Regions from separate parts of the Homo sapiens genome. Here regions 2 and 3 are each linked to region 1. Evidence: promoter capture Hi-C in human tissues and cell types (Jung and others, 2019). All regions are on one chromosome and are shown on one strand. Each heading gives the region's core, a stretch centred on a gene start or on the middle of the fragment in contact. The rest is flanking DNA. Distances are from core to core; before and after follow the strand shown.

The links. Contacts are between HindIII fragments. The study calls those that stand out against the background at their distance.
Region 2: a fragment that was not itself captured here is called in contact with the fragment with the promoter of TPM2 in region 1 in 6 of the 25 tissues and cell types used here (dorsolateral prefrontal cortex, heart left ventricle, heart right ventricle and 3 more).
Region 3: a fragment that was not itself captured here is called in contact with the fragment with the promoter of TPM2 in region 1 in 3 of the 25 tissues and cell types used here (dorsolateral prefrontal cortex, lymphoblastoid cells and spleen).

Annotation. Positions count from the first base shown.
Region 1 is chr9:35,687,406-35,692,264 of GRCh38, reverse strand. TPM2 (tropomyosin 2) reads left to right here and starts at 2,340. Exons shown (of 9, transcript NM_003289.4): 1 at 2,340-2,561; 2 at 2,994-3,119. The coding sequence starts at 2,448. RefSeq lists a silencer at 923-1,002 and an enhancer at 3,898-4,375. The HindIII fragment of the contact is 5,966 bases long and covers 1-4,742 here.
Region 2 is chr9:35,760,591-35,764,868 of GRCh38, reverse strand. It overlaps a transcript of RGP1 not described here. Among named protein-coding and RNA genes, the nearest start is that of MSMP, 8.5 kb to the right of the region's middle. The HindIII fragment of the contact is 6,133 bases long and covers 1-4,278 here.
Region 3 is chr9:35,596,939-35,601,648 of GRCh38, reverse strand. No RefSeq gene overlaps it. Among named protein-coding and RNA genes, the nearest start is that of TESK1, 6.0 kb to the left of the region's middle. RefSeq lists silencers at 1,654-1,773, 2,343-2,637 and an enhancer at 1,963-2,603. The HindIII fragment of the contact is 9,787 bases long and covers 1-4,710 here.

The DNA of each region.
Region 1 (4,859 bases), core at 1,091-3,590:
GTTGAGGACTCACAGACCGGCGGAGGCGCCAAACCGGTATAAGAACAGTTATACCATGGGACTAGGATGAGGGTGAGAGCCCGCACCAAGAACACGCACCTATTAGGTGAGGCGGTGGGAAGAGAAGTGGCCAGGGAAGGCTTCCCAGAAAAGCTGACACTTACTGAGTCTTAAAGGCCACCAGGAATCAGCCAAGGGGATGGGCATTTTAGGGAGAGAGAACAGAATGCATAAACTGTGGAAGCTTTAAGAAAAGTATGGCTATTTCCAGCTCCTGCACGTAGCTCATTATGAATGCAGCATGAGGTACAAGTATGAATACTGGGGGTGAGGTTGGGCATGGAAGGAGATGAGGCCAGAGAGGCAGGCAACAGCCAAAACAACGGGCCTTCTATACCATATTAAGAAATGTGGATTTTTTTTTTCTCCTCAAAACAGGCAGGGTGCCCGCACGCCTGTAATCCCAGCTACTCAGGAGGCTGAGTCGGGAGGATCACTTAAGCCCATAAGTTCAAGACCAGCCTGGGCAATCTAGCAAGCTCCCGTCTCAAAAAAGGTGGGGGGACAGGGATTAGGGAGGGGTTTTGGAGAATTTTAGATAATATTCGCATTAACTTTTAAAAAGATATTTGACAACAATGTCATGGGACAGTCAAATGAATGAATGAGTTGAGGAACTAGAAGTAAGACTACAAAACAGACTGAAGAAAACATAAGGCGCGGCCAGAGGCCAGCCCAGACCGACCCGAGGAGGAACCTCCTTGGTAGAAGGCAGCCTCTCCAGGATTAGGTGGTTGTGAGACGCGAAGGGCAGGGGATACCCAGTGGTCTAGCATAGGCTACTGGTGGATGAGGCGTCTTCCACGGAGTTAGAGGAACACTGCGAGGTCAGGCCAGGGTTGCTCTCCGTGTGGCTAGCAGGCAGCTAAACAGATCTGAATGCATTTCCACGCCACCTCCCCACCGCCCCGGCCAGCGGCCTCGGGTTCCCACGGTCCCCAGCCCACTGCAAAATCCAGGCCTCCCGCCCCTCTATGACTGGAGGGTGGGGGCGAGGCTAGCAGCTCCCTCCCGGCTTCCTCCGCTTGTTCTCTCCTCCCCTTCCCCCTCCTCCCGGCGGCTCTCCACTTCCTTTCCCCCCACCCCACCCCAGGGAAAAACGAAAACAAACACCCTCGCGCCTCGCGCCTCCGACTCCCAGACCCCACGACCCGGCTCCGGCGCTGGTTTGGCGGCCTGGGTGGGAGAAGGCACCTCGCCCCGGACCCCCTATGCCCCGCAGCTCAGTGACTCTTCCCCTCGCCCTCCGCCTTCCCCGCCGCAGCCCGGCTCCGCCTCCCAATGGGGAAACATCCCAAAAAAGGGCAGAAAAGAAATTTCAGCATAAAGTTGGCCCACTGGGAAAGAGAGGAGCGTCCGCGGGGAGCGGGGGAGAAGAGGGAAGGCGCGCGGAGGGGAGTGGGGCCAGGCGGAGCCAGGGGCGGGGAGCGGAGGGGCTCGGGACGCGTCCGGGTGGGAGCGGGGGCGGGGAACGCGCGGTGACCAGCCTGGCCGCAGCCGCGTGGAAAATATGCGGGGCACGTGGGGGGCGGGGCGGGGAGCTGGGTCCTGAGCCGCCGGGTGCTCGCAGGAAGGGCCTGGCTCCAGGGGCAGGGGCTGGGAGGGGAGGCGAGGGGATGAGAGGTCAGGCCGGTCCTGGGGGCAGCAAGCCCGGCCACACTCCCCACCGCGACCGGGGCTCTGGGCTCGCTTCCTGCTTCAGTTTCCCCAAGCTCCCGATGAGACTCCGCTACTACCACCACGTCGATAACGCAAACCTAGAGGGACTCAGGGTAAACTGAGGCACTCAAACTGCCGAGGAGCTCCGCCTCCCGAGAGACATTTAATCCGGGGGGATTTGCAGGAAACTTCTAAATTAAGGGTAGCGGCTGCTGCAGCTGAGGGGGGGCACGCCGGTCCCTGCGCCCGGGCAGCTGCCGTGAGCTCACGCCCCGAAATAGCCCCAGGGGCCCCAGCCGCAGCTGCCACTGGGTCCGGCTGTCACTCAGAGGAAGCACGGAGCCCCCAGCCCAAGGGTCCCCTCCCCTTCGCATCGCCGGGGTTTTTCCAGCCGACCGTCGGCCACTTTTTCCTCCGACGGCTGGCAGGGAAGAGGGGGATGGGGGCGGGACCCCAAGGGAGGCGGTCCCCAGTGGGTGGGCGAAGGGGGCGGCCGCACCCCCCGGCCGGGCCGTGCTTCTGCCCCTACAAGGTTTGGGCCGAGGTGGGGGAGGGTCCTGGTTGCCGGCCCCGCCCGGTCCCTCCCCGCCTTTTAGGCGCCCGCGTGGCCGGGACGTCCCAGTCCCGCTCCGTCCTCCTCGCCTGCCACCGGTGCACCCAGTCCGCTCACCCAGCCCAGTCCGTCCGGTCCTCACCGCCTGCCGGCCGGCCCACCCCCCACCGCAGCCATGGACGCCATCAAGAAGAAGATGCAGATGCTGAAGCTGGACAAGGAGAACGCCATCGACCGCGCCGAGCAGGCCGAAGCCGACAAGAAGCAAGCTGAGGACCGCTGCAAGCAGGTTAGGGCCGGGCCCAGTGCAGCCTGCTCTCCCCGCGCCTAGGGCAAGGGTGGGCCGCTGCCATGGGTCCCCCAGCCCCGGGCCTGCCCGCCAAGGCTCTCTCTCACCCAGGGTGGGGGCTGGGCCTTCGCAGTACCCTCAGGGCCTTCGCCAGAGCCGCTTCTCTCCCCTACAATAGCCTGGGGAAGCCCCAGGCCCCTGGTTTCCACTCTGCCTTTGCAGAGCGCGGTTGGTCCTGCTCCTTGGGGCCTGAAGTTTTCTCTGTACCCTCAACGGGTCCCACCAGTACCCTTGACTGTACTGTCCCTTTTATGTTATTCCGCTTCCATCCCAGTAGCCTCCAAATCTTAGTAGCGCCCCTACACACACCGCGTCTCCATTCTGGGCCTGGGCCCCCTCCCAGCCTGGCTGACCAAGTCCCCTCTGTCCCAGCTGGAGGAGGAGCAGCAGGCCCTCCAGAAGAAGCTGAAGGGGACAGAGGATGAGGTGGAAAAGTATTCTGAATCCGTGAAGGAGGCCCAGGAGAAACTGGAGCAGGCCGAGAAGAAGGCCACTGATGTGAGTGTGGACTTGGGGGACAATGGGAGGAGTTAGGGCTCTGGGAAGGGGCCCCCCGGGTATGGGAATAAGAGGATTGGGGCACCTTATCCCCTTATGTCCCCAGCGCCAGGAGAGAAATGGTTTCATCTCAGTAACCAGGGCTAGGGTAAACTTACACAAGTAATCCAAGACAGTGGATAAATCAAAACCACCTACCACTTCCCCCAGAGGACTTAGCCCTGTAATTCTGTTTGGTTCCAGCTTTTAGAATGTACAGTGATCAAGCAATGAGTCATTGTGGGGGTGGAAGGTATAAGAATTTACCATCTACCTCAATTAATCCTCCAGCTGAAATTGGAGAGGAGACTGCAGCCGTTTGGGGATGGGGGGATGTGGATGTGAGGTACTAGCCTGCAGGAGGAGGGAGAGGGATCCAGAGATGAGACCCCACTTGAGTTACAACCCTAAGGGGCCATTAGAAATTCCCTGGCCTTGACCTCTGGCTTCAGCAGCCCTGCTGTGCCCTGGGGCCCCAGCTCAGGTTCTAATGGCTCCTCATTTACCCTCATTAAGCTGTCAGCCTGGAGACCATGCCAGGCCACAGGGCAGAGGGACAGGGCCACAAATGCCAAAGCAGCTACCTTGGCAGGTCATTTACCCTGAGATTTCTCTGCCCACCCCACAACCCCAACCAGACTTCACTTCCTGCCATTCCCAACCCCCAGCTTAAGGTAGGAGAATGGCCATATGGCTTTGGTGTGGTGGTAGTTTCCCCATTCTCTGCCTCAGTTTCCCCATCTTCCTTCCACCCAGGATTGTTTTAAGATGAACCTATGGTTAGATTAGCATAAAGCATGGTCTGAACATCAGAGATGACATAGCTGTTTGTGTCGACTGCTCATGTTCCCAGCCCCCCAGGGGTTGGGCTTCTGTGACCTCCAGCCTCCAGTTTTGGTTCTCCACCAGTCCTGGCACTTGGGAGGGAGCTGACCTGCAGCTGCTAGCACAGACAACCCTGGGCATCTGACACTCTATAAATAACCAAGGCCCAGTGCAGCTGGAGGCAAGATTGGAAACCCAAGTTGCTGGTGGGGGCTGGAGGGGCAGGGGGGACAGGGACAGAGCTGGGGAGGCAGAGCCGCAGCACCAGGAGCAGATAGGAAAGACTGCCCAAGCTTCCTGGTGACCTTGAACACAGCACTCAACTTACATGGTGCCTCAGTTTCTCCCTCTCTCTTGCTTCCCATTTTTCTAATGGGGACAGTAGTGCCTGTCCTGTGGTTAGAGAGCCGCCCCCGTAACTGGGAAGAGCTTGAGAGGCAGGAAATGGCACATATCAGTCCCATGATGAGGACCCCAGGACTTCCCAAACTTTCCAGAGTCTTTTGTCACCCCACCATCATGCAGAGTTTTTCTTTTACAGTCTCACCTCTCTCTAGGGTAGTACTCCAATGTCCCCCACAGTGATTCTTCCCAACCCCCAATGCTGTCCCCAGAATGCTTCCACACTGTCATCCGGCCCTGTGCCCATGATGGGCTCTTGTCACTCTAGGTGGCCAAGCTCCAGGTGCCTTCAGCACCTGGAAGACAAGCTACCATCTACTCTCTATATATGGTGCTGTTTCTCCTGCCCTACAGTCCGACCAAGGACCTGCTTCCTATGCTGTGTCCAAGTGCTGCCCCCAGCCCCTCCCCCCACCTCCTTTCCCTACACAGGTCCTCTCTCCTTTCCACTCTGAAATCTCAGGGTCTCTGTGT
Region 2 (4,278 bases), core at 402-2,901, 73 kb before region 1:
TAGGAGTGAGCCATCGTGCCTGGCCAAACTATTAATATACATAAAAACATGAATAAATATCAAAAACAGTGTGCTGAGTTAAAGAAGCCAAATGCAGAATACATACTCTGTGACTCCATTTACATGAAACTCTACAAAACAAATCTACAGTGATAGAAACCAGATCAGTGTGGATTGCAATGAGTGAGGAGTAAATGCAAAGGGTAATAAGGAAATTTGGGGGCAGTGGTGGGGTGGTGACAGAGATGTTCTACATCTTGACTGGGAAGATGATTACACAGGTATATACATCTGCTAAAACTCACTGAATTGTACATTTTAAATGGGTACATCTTCCTGTATATAAATTATATTTCAATAAAGTTGAAAAAAGTATTTTGAAACAGTTATTTAAAAGTATTTTTTGTTATCAATAGTAGCTGGCCAACAAATCATTATAGAGATTAAGCAGCCCATTAGTAATATAAGGTTATCCTTGCTCCATTAGCCTTCTGAAACATACCGGAAGAATGAGTTCTCTGTCCAGTGGAAATGGAGGTTAATTTGTTATCCAATCCACAGGAGTTAAAGAGTGTGAATATGCACACTTCTCATCATTAGCTTAAGTCGAATTTTTAAAAATCAGACCAAGTGCTAAGAATTGAAATTAACTTTTTCCCAAAAGGATAATGCTTCAAAAGATCTCCATTGTGGGAAAACAAAACACTTCACTTCTTTTTTCTTCTTCTTCTTTTTATTTTATTTTATTTTCAAGACAGGGTCTCACTCTGTCTCCCAGGCTGAGTGTGGTGGCATGATCATGGCTCACTACAGCCTCAACCTCCTAGCCTCAAGCCGTCCTCCCACCTCAGCCTCCTGAGTAAAAAAAGGAAGTCCCTCTTCCTCCCCTCCTCTCTCTCCTTTCTCAATCTCTCTTATCAGAGTTAATGTCTGTCATCAGTCTGATGAGTTTTTTCTTTTCTCTTTTCTTTTTTTTTTTTTTTTTTTGAGATGGAGTCTCACTCTGTTGCCCAAACTGGAGTGCAGTGGCAAGATCTTGACTCACTGCAATCTCCATCTCCCAGGTTCAAGCGATTCTCCTGCCTCAGCCTCCCAAGCAGCTAGGATAACAGGCATACACCACCACACTCGGCTAATTTTTGTATTTTTAGTAGAGACAGGGTTTCGCCATGTTGGCCAGGCTGGTCTCGAACTCCTGACCTCAGGTGATCTGCCTGCCTTGGCCTCTCAAAGTGCTGGGATTACAGGCGTGAGCCATCGCGCCCAGTCTGATGTGTTTTCTTCCAGGCAATTTCTATATATCTCATTCTTGTTTTAAAAAATGCATGCATGTGAGATATAAATAGGATTGTATTATTCATATTATTATGTAACTTGCTTTTTATGGGCTGTGATTTTCTGTTTCTTTTGTATCTTCTTGTCATGCCTGATTAAAACTGTACACATGAAAATCTTGCCAAAGGTGAAGTCTAGGAATAGGGAGGGACTCCGTTAATCTCACTATTATATAGCCCATTAATTACTCATAATAGGATGGATTTAGGCTCTCATTCAGCTGAACAATGAGGATCCTAAAGAATGCTAACACAAGGTTAGCCTGAAAAGTTCTAAGAGATAGGGAGAAGGTTCTTAAACAGGGAAATCTCAGGACGAAAACAATGTTCCAAGAAGAATAAAATGGCAACAGTATATATAATATAGAACAGAATTAGACAGCAAGGAGACTAGTTAAGTGGCTAATACAGAATAGTAAATTAGAAGAAATGAGATTCTGGATTACAGTGGTGGCCAGTAGAATGGAGAGAAGCTTTCATTGAATTCTAACAAGGCAGACTTGTAGAGTGGAAGAAACAAAAGATTTGAACTAGAAGAGCTAGATTTGAATCCCAGCTCTGAAATTTACTAGCTGTGTGACCTCTGGCAAGACACTTCTTCCGTATCTCAGCTTCCCTTTCAATAAAAGGAACACCTTGAAATATCAGAGCCTTTAACTTTTTTTTTTTAACAGCAGAACTGTTTTTTTTTTTCCGTTAAAAAGAAAATCTTCAAGGAAGCCAGTACGTTTAATTTGTAAAACAAATAAAAGCAAGATTGTTCTGGTTGAAGCATAGGTAAAAGGGCTCAGAGCCCCAGCTAGCCTTCATTTCACCCTTCTCAGCCACTTCTGAGGCATCCTTCAGAAATCTCCAGAGGGCTGAGGAACAAAGTTTGAGAAATCTCTAAAGACTTTACTATCAACTCTATTATCAATTACTTGAGGGGGTAAAATTGACAGAGGTGCCTAGAAAAATAATAATGAATTTAATAGTGCCACAGAATCATATGACAGAAAAAGGGCGAATTGACTTTTCCTAAATCTGCCTGCTTCTCCTTGCAGGTTGAACCCAATTTAATGTCTAAAACCTCATCCGACCCTTGTGCAAACGGTCATCTAACCTCTATATGAACAATATGGCCAAAATTTACTGCCTAACAATTCAGTTCATTCCACTTTGGGGTCCTCAAATGAGTCAAAATTTCCTTATCAAGCCAAAATTTGTCCTCCATCACTAAATAAAAGTTCTTAATCTATCTTCTGGAACTAAACCAGTAAATCTAATTGCTCCTTCATCATGACAGTCCTTCAATTGTCTGAGGAGAGCTATCATGTCTGCCTTATTTCCTTGTATTCTCCCTTGCTCTTGCTCTGGCATGACATGAATATACCATGGAGGCAGCCTGCTCCTGTTTTGGATCAAGTTGAATTTTTTTTTTCAACAGAATCTCACACTGATCTCGGCTCACTGCAACCTCTGCCTCAGGTTCAAGTGATTCTCCTGCCTCAGCTGGGATGACAGGCATGTGCCAACATGCCTGGATAATTTTTTGTATTTTTGGTAGAGATGGGGGGTTTTACCATGTTGACCAGGCTGGTCTCAAACTCCTGACCTCAAGTGATCTGCCTGCCTCGGCCTCCCAAAGTGCTGGGATTACAGGTGTGAGCCACCACACCCAGTCAGAGTCAGTATTTTAAAGCATCTAAGTGCAAGTAGGTTTTCATTTATTTGTGGCTTTAAGGAAACTTAATTTAATCAAGCCAGATGATCCTCCTTTAAAAAATGACTAGCTTTGATAACTAAGTGTAAATAGAACCCAAATTCATTATTTGGTTGTTTTTGTTTTTTTGGGGTTTTTTGTTTGTTTGTTTGTTTGTTTGAGACAGGGTCTTGCTCTGTCACCCAAGCTGAAGTGCAGTGGCACAATCATGGCTCACTGCAGCATCGACCTCCCAGGCTCAAGTGATTCTCTCACCTGAGCCTCCCAAGTAGCCGAGACTACGGGAGTGCACCACCACACCTGGCTAATTTCTGTATTCTTTTTTGTAGAGACAGGGTTTTGTCATGTTACCCAGGCAGGTCTTGAACTCCTGGACTCAAGCACTCCATCTGCCTCATGTTCCCAAAGTGCTGGGATTACAGGCATGAGCCATGCACCTGGCCCTAAAAATATTCTTTTCTTACTGAACATTAGCTGCTTCCAGTGTACTAGAAGTAGATTGCCAAACCTTTTGGCCCAAAGCAAATTGTAAAGACATTTAGCTAGGGATGCAAAAACATCTAAGACTCAAGGTCCAGTGAAGCAGGCATAAATAACATAATAAATAAAGAGAAGCATCCTGATTCCAAAACTTGCATCTAACAACCAACTCCCAGGGAAATGTAGTTCTCATGATTACAAATTCAATTATCACCAAAATGACATGAAATATCAATGCTAGAAGGAAAGCTTCATTCATCATTCCTTATCCTACCCACCCCATAAATCTACTACCAGGTCTGTGAAATCAGGATCTGTGGCTTGGGCCTCAGTCTCTGCCAGTCTGGGTAGTTTTGGGGATGGGGAAAAGGAAGTATGGCTGAGTCCCTAAGGAGAAAGCAAGCCAGCATAATCACAGTCCATGATGCTTGTGGGAGCACTGAGCCTGTACAGTTTCCTGTGCTCCAGTTGTCTTGGTAACCTGAGGCCTCCTTATTTGTGTTGGCATCATGGGGCCAAAAGCGGAAGCAAAGCTGGAACACCAGGAAGACTTGCAGGAGAAAAAAATGTAGATAATGCAGCAGTTATGCCACAGGAGGGTCAAGCCTAGGGCAGAATTACCTGGTTGGGGGTGGGAAGGTAGTGTCTTGTAAAAATCAGATCTCTGGGTTCTACCTTCAGCGTTTCTGATTCAGTAGGTCTAGGATAAGCTCAGGAACCTGCAATTTTAAGAAGCTACCACCTACCAAGTAAGTCAAAGAC
Region 3 (4,710 bases), core at 806-3,305, 90 kb after region 1:
GAGCCCAGGAGTTCGAGTCCAGCCTGGGCATCATAGCAAGACCCTGTCTCAAAATAAATAAAAAGTTAGAAAATAATATTATCATTCCTTCTTTGAATGAATTCCTATAGAAGTATTAGGTAGAATAATTCTATAAGGAGAAACTTTTCCACATTAACTATTTGTTACACAGAGATACATTTCCTAGGAAAGGCAGAATAAATACTTGATTGTTTCTCACTTATTTTACCAGCTTTCAAAGTAATGAGTTGGTTCCCCAGCATCTTCCAAAGTTGACCGATGAGGTTTTTTTTAAAGTACCATTATGAACTCATAATTTAACACATATGTGATATACTCAATTATTGCTAGTTATCTTTTTTTTCTTTTTGAGACGGGTCTCACTCTTTTTCAGGCTGGAGTGCAGTGGCACAAAGCTCACTGCAACCTTGACCTCCCGGGCTCAAGTGATTCTCTCATCTCAGCCTCCCAAGTAACTGGGACTACAAGCACGTGCCATCACACCTGGCTAATTTTTAATTTTTTTGTAGAGACAGGGTCTCACCATGTTTTGCCCAGGCTGGTCTCAAACTCCTGGCCTCAAGTGATCCTCCTGCCTTGGCCTCCCAAAGTGCTGGGATTACAGACATGAGCCACTGCACCCAGCCCAGTTATTGATTGATTGATTGATTGAGATGGAGTCTTGCTCTGTCACCCAGGCTAGAGTGCAGTGGTGTGATCTCGGCTCACTGCAAACTCCGCTTCCCAGGTTCAAGCGATTCCCCTGTCTCAGCCTCCTGAGTAGCTGGGATTACAGACACCTGTCACCACGCCCGGCTGATTTTTGTATTTTTAGTAGAGACAGAGTTTCACCATGTTGGCCAGGCTGGTCTCAAACTCCTGACCTCAGGTGATCCTCCTGCCTTGGCCTCCCAAAGTGCTGGGATTACAGGCGTGAGCCACTGCGCCCAGTTATCATTTTTGGTGCTTGTCCTATTGTTACGGGATCTTTGGGGCGTCCTTTTTCTGGCCAGAAACCTCTGTGGCTGGTGGTGCTTTTGCCCCAGTTTTGCTCAGGCCCTCTGGGCTTGTTTCGCCTACCCAGCCTGGCAGCCTGTGCTTGGCTCACGCTACCAGCCTGGGTCCCATGCCTGCCAAGGGTGAGACAGGCGTGGAACAGTTAGGGGTATGTGAGTGAGCATTGGGTCCAGCCACTGTGCACAGTCAGACATTCCGGGTGCTGCAGTGGGGCGGGCAGTTCCAGGTGCCAGCATGGCACCATTTCCCTGCAAGCCTGCGGCCGGACCAGGCACATGGCAAGCAGCTTCCACAGCTGGCACTGGGGGACACATTGGTGCCTGGAAGCTTGGAGATGCCAGGAACAGCAGGTCCTCAAAGAGGAAGTCACAGCCCTGGCTTGGGGAGCTCCCAGGGCTAGGCTCCCCGAAGGGCTGCAGTTCTTCTTTCCTTGCCTTCACCCACAACGTGGCAAGCAAGGGTCATGTCTCACCCCCGTTTGTTACAGCTCTTTTAGCCTCACCATTTGGTGGGTCCTGAGTTCTTGTCCTGCGACAGGAAGAATGAGGTACGCAGACAAGTGAAGAGTGAGCAAGACAAAGAGTAGCTTTATTGAGCAATAGAACAGCTCAAAAGAAACCTGCAGGGGGCAGCTCCTTTCCCTAGCAGGGGTGTCCTGAGGCATGTTCAGCTCCTAGCAGAGAGGGTAGCTCCTCTCTGCTAGGCAAGTCGTCCTGACAAGTGTTCAGCTATCAGCAGGGAGGGTAGCGTCTCTCTGCAGCTGGTTGTCCTGTCATCTGTGCAGCTCTCAGCAGAGGGGAGGCCCTAGAGTGGGTGGCTTCTCTCTGCAGGTATGTCATCCTGTAGTCTCTGCAGCTCTCAGCAGAGAGGAGGCCCCAAAGTTGGTTGCTCCTCTCTGCAGCTGGTTGTCCCAACATCTGCGGCTCTCACAGAGAGGAGGCCTTGGTGTGGGTAGCTCCTCTCTGCAGCTGATTGTCCTGACGTCTGCTCAGAGCCTGGGCTTTTATGGGCCTTAGAGGGGAGGAAGTGCATGCCAGTTGGTCCTGGGCAGCCATGGGTGGGCCTGGAAGTGTCACCACAAGTTCCCACTCCCATAGTGTGATGGGCAGCCCGGTCCCCAGCCTTCAGGCCCTCCCTGGCCTGAAAGTGGGGCCTTACCAGGGACCTGCCCCATCCGCTCAGAAGCCTGTCTGCCTCCTGCTGCCATTCATGGTGCCCAGGCTGTAGGTGCCAAGAGGCGCCTGCAGGCCAGTGCTGAGCTGCCTTCAGACCCCACTTGGCTTCCCTCCTATGCTCATTGGCACCCAAAATCTGTAGGGGACCAAAGCAGCAGGGGACTGGTGTGTCAGCACTGCTCCGAGTATGTGCACACTCGGCCAGGCTGTGACAGTGCCCAGGCTCTGCTCGGACTTTGTTCTGAGATTGGAGTGGGCACCAACAGCAGGAAGAAGCCAGGCAGTTGGAGCAGGAATTTCTGAGCCTGTGAGGCCTTCTGGGGCCCCAAGAGGGCAGGGATTCCTGAGTCTGCAGCCACTCTTTGAGTGGCTGCACCTACACCTGGCAGGGGCGGGGCTCCTGCCTGCTCTGCTGAGCAGGAGGCCTGAGTCTGCAGCTGTGGTTTGGGTGGCTGCAGCTGCGCCTGGAAAGGTAGGGCTCCTGTCTGCTCCCGGTCCTGAAAGCACAGGGATGCCTGGGTCCACAGCCGTGGCTTGGGCGGCTGCAGCAGCACCCAGGGAGCTCCCACCCCAACTTGGAAGGGACAAGGATCCCGCTTGTCCCCAGCTCCTGTTGGCTCCATGGAATGTGCAGCCCTGGCCATGCCTCCCTGCTGCAGCTGGCATGATGGCAGCAGCCACTGCAGACAGCCTGCTGCTGCCATCACTATTTTGTTCCCACTGGCCAAAACTGTCCTATTTTGGCCAGTGGGAACTTATTCAAGTTAGTTCCTGAGTCCTTCTGACATAAATTTCCAGTTTTCTTGCTATCCAATATGATAAAATGTTCTGGACTCATTTTGTGCATATCTAGACCAGAGCTGGTATCAGCTACTTTTTTTCCCCAGTGATTCATGGTCTTTTTTAGTGGGAAATGGTGTTTGGATACCACAACCTGGGTATTAGAGGAATATAAAGTTATTGACCTTAAAAGCAGTTAAATGAATGTGGTTGATTACTCATTATTCTCAAAATAGTATCCCCATGTTGGGCATGGGGGCTCATGCCTGTAATCCCAGCACTTTGGGAGGCTGAGGCAGGAGGATCACTTGAGCCCAGGAGTTTGAGACAAAGCTGAGCAATGAAGTGAGGCCCCCTGTCTACAAAACATCAAAAAATTAGCCAGGAGTGGTGGTGCATGCCTGTGGTCCCAGCTACATGGGAGGCTGGGGTAGGAGGAATCCTTGAGCCCAAGAGGTTGAAGCTGCAGTAAGCCATAATGCTGCCACTGCACTCCAGCCCAGGCGACAGAGCAAGACCCTGTCTCAAACCCTCAAAAACAGTCACCCTAATCTCTTTATTATGAAAAAATTCAAACATGCAGAAAAGTTGAAGGAATGCATAATGAACACCTGTACATCATTCATGTAAATCCAACAATTGTTAACATTTTGTCCTATTAGTTCTCTCTAATATAGAATAGGTATAACATATAATAGTAATAATACAATATAATTTTTTTTTTTTTTGAGACAGAGTCTTGCTCCGTTGCCCAGGCTGGAATGCAGTGGCATGATCTTGGCTTACCACAACCTCTGCCTCCTGGGTTCAAGTGATTCTCCTGCCTCAGCCTCCTGAGTAGCTGGGACTACAGGCGCTTGCCACCATGCCCGACTAGTTTTTGTATATTTACTAGAGATGGAGTTTCACTATGTTGGCCAGGCTGGTCTCAAACTCCTGACCTCGTGATCTGCCCGTCTCAGCCTCCCAAAGTGTTGGGATTACAGGTGTGAGTCACCGCACCCGGCCTATAATATAAATCTTATTGTAGCATTTGAAAATATGTCGAGGCCAGGTGCGGTGGCCCATGCCTGTAATCCCAGTTACTCCGGAGGCTGAGGCAGGGAATTGCTTGAGCCCGGGAGGCAGAGGTTGCAGTGAGCCGAGATTGTGCCACTGCACTCCAGCCTGGGCAATAGAGCAAGACTCCGTCTCAAAAAAAAAAAAAAAAAGTATGTTGAAGGTGTCATCCTCATTTCAAAATCATTAGCAGTGTCTCCTAAGGTCATTTTCTATGAAAACATAATACCGTATCTTGAATCACTTTCTTCATTTGGTTTCTTGATTCTCCTCATATTTCACTGGCTCCTTCTCCCAGGTCTCTTTTGCTGGTTCTTCTTCAGCTTCCTGACCTCTAAACAGTGGAATACACAGGGCTCTGTCATTGGATCTCTTCTCTTCTCCCTCTACATACACATTGTGGGTCATTTCATTAACTCTAAGGCCTTAAATGCTATCTACTTGCTGATGACTTCCGTTTTCTCTCCCTTGCCCAAACCTTTCCTCTGAACTCTAGATTCCTATGTTCAGTTGCTTACTCATCATTTTCTTTTTTTCTTTTCTTTTTTTTTGAGATGGAGTCTTGCTGTGTTGCCCAGGCTGGAGTACAGTGATGTGACCTCGGCTTGCTGCAACCTCCACCTCCTGGGTTCAAGTGATTTTCCTGCCTCAGCCTCCTGAGTAGCTGGGATTACAGGGG